2 separate regions of the Homo sapiens genome follow, and region 2 is linked to region 1. Evidence: promoter capture Hi-C in 16 types of primary human blood cells and fetal thymus (Javierre and others, 2016). All regions are on one chromosome and are shown on one strand. The core of a region is centred on a gene start or on the middle of the fragment in contact, and the rest is flanking DNA. Distances in the headings are between cores, read along the strand shown.

Evidence for each region. Contacts are between HindIII fragments. The CHiCAGO score rates a contact against its expected background, and 5 or more counts as called.
Region 2: a contact is called between a fragment that was not itself captured here and the fragment with the promoter of RAB27B in region 1, in 1 of 17 cell types (erythroblasts). The highest score is 6.7, in erythroblasts.

Annotation. Positions count from the first base shown.
Region 1 is chr18:54,827,049-54,829,938 of GRCh38, forward strand. RAB27B (RAB27B, member RAS oncogene family) reads left to right here and starts at 1,429. Exons shown (of 6, transcript NM_004163.4): 1 at 1,429-1,652. The HindIII fragment of the contact is 8,053 bases long and covers 1-2,890 here.
Region 2 is chr18:54,359,781-54,362,670 of GRCh38, forward strand. It overlaps C18orf54 (chromosome 18 open reading frame 54), which reads left to right. Exons shown (of 9, transcript NM_001288980.2): 3 at 747-1,075; 4 at 1,863-2,651. The coding sequence starts at 793. Among named protein-coding and RNA genes, the nearest start is that of C18orf54, 3.3 kb to the left of the region's middle. The HindIII fragment of the contact is 461 bases long and covers 1,283-1,743 here.

The sequences.
Region 1 (2,890 bases), core at 179-2,678:
TATTTCTGTCTGGGCCCATGGACACACACTTCTTATATACTTAGATATTGCTGTTAAATGCAAAGTAGATTTATCATAAATATAGATTCCAAGCATACATACTTTGAAAATCTACAGGCTGAGCCTCAAAGACTTTTATGCAGTAGATCCAAAATAATTTTTAGGAACTGGATCTTACTTGGGGAGAATGGAATAGATTGTTACCAAAATTATAAGTATAGCCAACACATTCATAGAACTTACTGTGCCAGGCACGTTCTACACACATTACTGATATGAAGTCAATTCTTCACAATAACACTATGAAGACATTATTATTACTCTTCTTTTCAACTTTCAAGAACATTGAAGGACATAAAATAGAACTTCTTTAATAGTTTCATAATAGAATAGACAGATTTCTATGAGACCAAAATGTTTTCTCTAATATTCCATTTTTCCACTAGTTTGCTATTGTTTGTTTTGTGTTTTGGTTTGGGCTATTCCTTTGCTCCCTTCTACAAGAAATTCTCTGGGAGCTGATAACAGCAGTGCCTCCCAGATTGTCTCTAGGGCATCGAATAAGAAACAAGTTAAGTAATTAAAATTCAAGCAGTCATTGGCATCTCGTTGTTTACTAACATGAATGCAAGACACAGGTTTGGAACTTTTAAATTTTGTTCACAGAGGAGTAAATCGGTTGTTATTATAATGTACCTAACCTTGTATTCTTACCTTTACTACCAGTCTGTAAATTAGGGATGTCTGAATGTGTCTAAAATGGAATCCCAAGATGGGCAGCCAGGATCTTTGCTTTGTGGACGAATCTAATGTGTTTAGAACACGGCATAGCACATAGTAGGTGCTTAACAAATACTGGTTCAATGCCTCCGTGTGCTCATTATCTTACTTAGTGGTAACCTATTGATCTCTGAAGTGACTTTAGGAAGTGAATTAGGGCTTTGGGAAGTGAATTTGGATGTTGCATACTGATTAATGCATTCATACGAACACATCCTAACTTTTAAAATATTAATTTCTTTCCAACGCCCTCTTTTATTTCCCGAGGCCATCCTCTGCTCCCCACTCGCAATCCCTCGCCTTCACTCCTCATAGTTAATGAGACACCCCCTCGGAGGAGAGAACGCAATGTCAGGGCCCCAGTTCTCACAGCGCCCTGGGCTCTTTGAATGAGAGACATCAAAGAAAACACAGAACAAAAATGAATAAAAATGAGCTCGCTGGTAAGGCTAGAAGCCCCACAGTGTGGAGACTTCATCCCCGAGAGGAGTGTGTTTCTCACTGCAGCAGTTGAGTCACCAGCAAGACTTGCCTGAGGTGAGCTCCGCACATCCGCGTTGGGACTTGCAGACACGCCTTCTTCTCACACAAACCTTACCCAGCCCCGCCGCCGCGGCGGACTCCGAGGGTGGTGCCACCAGCCCTGCCACTCGCAGTCCTGACGGGCAGGGGCTGCGGACCGCCCGGCCTTGGACCCATCCGGAGCCACAGGTTGGAGGAGATAAGTAGCTGTCCCCGTGCTCATCGCCCTGTGGAGCAGATCCTGTCTCCTTGCTGACGGTGGAGCCCGGGAGTTCCAGGGCTTGGGAAGGGGAAGGAAACCTCTCTGAAATCTGACACCTGCTCTCCCGGCAAGGAAACTTCGCAGGCTGGTGAGTTGGGAAGGCGGGCTGCTGCTGCTGGAACGCGTTCCCACCCACCCGGGTGCTGCAGCGCCGGCCTGCGCCGTGGGAAGTGAGGCCTCTGTGTGTGTGTGTGTGCATGTGTGAGTGCGTGTGCACCTTCGATCGCGGTTTCCAGCAGAAATCCTTGCAAAGAAGACAGTAGTGCTGTGTGCTGCACGGATGGCATGGGCCAACTCGACCTGGCTCTCCTTGAGTGTTTGCTTATCAAACAGCTGGTTACCACCAAAAAAAGCAAAAAGAAAAACAAAAAGCCTAGGCACAGCAATGCCAATTTCCTTTCATTTGCATCTCAAAAAACAATCAAAATAATGAATAAGAAAAAGCATGGATGATGATGTGCTCAGAGTTTCATTCCAGGAGGAGCGACTTAGTGAGGCAAGCCAGGAGAGCAATAAGACATTTATATGCACTTCCTTAGATGAAATAGCCACAGAGACCTTAAGAGTACTTTCTGTTTTCCAATTTTTTGCTCTGTTACTTTCGAATTCTGATCTAAGTGTTGCACCAACTAGGGTATATGTGTGCATGTGTGTTCACCCAACTGATCACAATAAATTAGCTTTCAAGACTTTCCCACCCAATGCAACATTAATTAAGCCTCTGAAAACTACTGAAGTAGGTGAACTGTAAGCAGAGACTGCATTCCTAGGAAAAAGCTGTGTTTGGTTAGAGCCTTCACACCTGTATCATGTTTTGTGAGTTTTTTATGTCAAGATGTAAAGCTAAGGGTATGTAATTCCAGTTGTTTTAAACTGCACATCATTAAATTAAGCCCAAAGTAATAACATAAATTTCAAGGTTATTAACAACAAAATTATTGTTTAATATAATACAGCTCTGAATTTTGATTTTGTTCTGTTTATAAGAAAAATGTCTACAGTTCTCAATATTTAGTTATATTCACACATATTCATTCATATATAGAATATACAGGGTTTTATGGTTATAAATTTTGAAAAGTTGAGGGAAAGGATAGACTTAAGCATTAATATAAACTCAGATATTTAAGTTTAATGAATTTTCAAGCTGCTGTAAAGTCCATATTGCAGTGATGAAGAGAGAGACATACCTGTCATGTGCCATTGCCCCTCAAATAGTTATTTTTCATAGTTTCCTAGCATAATCCTCTACCCAGATGGGGTCAGCCATCCTTGAAGGCAAGAGGTGATTCCTACCAATGACCAAAAAGGGGTAATCTTGACAGA
Region 2 (2,890 bases), core at 263-2,762, 470 kb before region 1:
CTCTCAATTTTAATAATGGAAAAACAGAAGAACACATTGAGTTGATTTTCACATTATTTAAGCTTCCTTTGAAAGAGGTGAGCTGAATCCATTTAACATAAGAATTGAAAATAGGGAGGGTGGTACCAAAAACGAAGGTCAGGAAATGATTAACTATTTTAGGAAAAGTGTATATTGCTAACTCATTCCAGAATAAGACCTGCAGTTTATTTACAGTTAAATGTTGTAAATGTACTAGCATTTATAACATTGAAAGTGAATATTCTCCATTGTTCTTGTTTTGAATACTTCATTTGATGGCTTTAAAAAATTTATTGAGCGCTATTATCTGCAGCACATGGTAGTAGGCTTATGATTTGAAAAATATGATGTATAGGGGAATATTAGGTATTGTGATGTCATAGAATATATCACCATAAGAGAAAAGAGGTTCATAAGTAGTTTTTAGGACTTTTTAAGAAGTGAGTACTCTCTCCTTGGTATTTTCCATGTATATTCTCAGATAATTTTTGTATACATACTTCCAGCCACATAGTAGGTACTCAAAAAATGTTTTCTAAATCATTGATGAAGGAATTCACAATAATAAATATAACAAAAATCTACAATTCCTAACAAGGAGTGTCTGTTATAGATAATGGATTTTATTATTTAAAGAAAATTACAAAAGGTTTACATATTTAGTAATTTTGTTTGTGTATGGTCACTTTTAATTGGCATCTTAACATTTCGTTTTTGTATTACAGTTGTTTTTAAGGGAAATGAATAGAAACAATCCACTTTGAAGAAGCCATGGCGAAATCAAAGACAAAACATAGACTTTGTTCTCAGGAATCTTCAGTATCTGCCCTGCTGGCAAGCTGCACCCTGAGTGGTAGTAATTCCTCTAATTCTGATGGCTCGTTTCACTATAAAGATAAGCTGTACAGATCTGCTTCTCAAGCTCTACAGGCTTATATTGATGATTTTGATCTAGGCCAAATATATCCTGGTGCAAGCACTGGAAAAATTAACATTGATGAGGATTTTACTAATATGTCACAGTTCTGCAACTATATTTACAAACCAAACAATGGTATGCTTTTATTCTTTGTTTTCTTTGTGTTCAGATGTTTTGAAGCATTTGGGAGATGTACTGTAGTATTGTAAAGTTTGACATTATTTTTGTTACTTTGGAGTAAAAATAACATAATATTGAGATCTGGGTGTTTTTGTAAAATGATTATATAATTCTCTGTGGAACAGTAATATTCACAAGATGTTAAGAGTTTGTCCATAATAAAGCTTCCTTGAAGACAAGTTTGGAAAATGCAGTTGTTGATAAGTCAATTACTACTTTACTTAACACTTGCAGAATGACCCTAGAATAGAAAAAGTTTGTATTCAGTTCTTGGAGGGATGTGGTCAATATATTCCGGAAGCAAAGAATGAGAACAGCTGTTCTCTATGTATAATCCATGCCATTGAAGGGTTTGTAGGTGAGAAAACAAGTTATTTTTCCACCTAGTTTAATAGCATATTTTTTTCTATGCTGCAACCAATATTGAGTGACCAATGTTACTGTGATTGTATTAGTGTATCAGATATGTCTAGATGATGAAAGTTGAAGGAACAGTAAATTAGAGAACACAGGAAAATTCAGGAGGTTGGAGAGAAACGTAGAAATTAACACAGAACGAAGAATCGTGAGAAAAAAAGCACATCCTGTTTTATCCACCTACACCTTTTTATGCTTTTAATCAAAGCTTTAGTGAGGATAAGGGGAAAGCAGCAAAATGCCTCTTAAATTCTTAATTCTCATTTACTGTTGGATATTATAAAATATTTGTATGTAATAAACAAAACTGTTCTTCGTTTTTCAGCTTTTGAAAACCTTGATCACAAAAAGCACTCAAACTTCATATCCTGTAGAAGACACACCGTTAATGACATAGACTCCATGAGCCTAACAACTGATGATCTATTAAGACTCCCAGCAGATGGATCATTTTCTTATACTTATGTTGGACCGAGTCACCGAACGAGCAAGAAAAACAAGAAATGCCGTGGAAGACTGGGTTCATTGGACATTGAGAAGAATCCACATTTTCAAGGACCCTACACTTCCATGGGCAAGGATAACTTTGTTACTCCTGTTATACGCTCAAATATAAATGGAAAGCAATGTGGTAGGCTGAAAAACCCAAAACTTATGAATAGGACTAATAATTGCATTTCTGAATCATCTTTGTCTTTTCCCAAGAAATCGTCTTTCAAGGACAGTTCAGAACACAGTCTTGAAAAGAATTACCCAAGATGGCTCACTAGCCAGAAATCTGACCTTAATGTTTCAGGGATAACTAGTATACCTGATTTCAAATACCCAGTCTGGCTGCACAATCAAGACTTGCTACCTGATGCAAATAGTCAAAGGGTTTATCAGATATTTAAAGATGATCAGTGTTCCCCTAGACATAGTCATCAGGCACAAGGAACTTCTCGGCTTATCAATAAATTAGATTGTTTTGAATATGCTTTTGAACCCTCAAACTTTTCAAATTCCTTGAGTGATGATAAAGAATTAGTTAATGAATACAAATGTGATTTTGAACATAGCCAGTGTCAATGTGAGAATCCACTTCTCCCAGGACAATCCACAAAGCCATTCAGTGGTAATACTTTGTTTATTGCTTATAGTTATTTATTTTTCTTTTTTTTAAACCAAAAGAAGTGCTGTAAAGTTGATGTGATATCTGGGAGCTTTTATGTTTTGTTTTCATGTAATACATCTTTTTGGAATGCTTATAATCTTCACATACAGCATTTTGTAACTAGAAAATGTCTTTTCTCCCATTTTTTTCTTTGCTTGAAATGTCACATTTTAACATAATTTGCTGTTATAGATGAATGT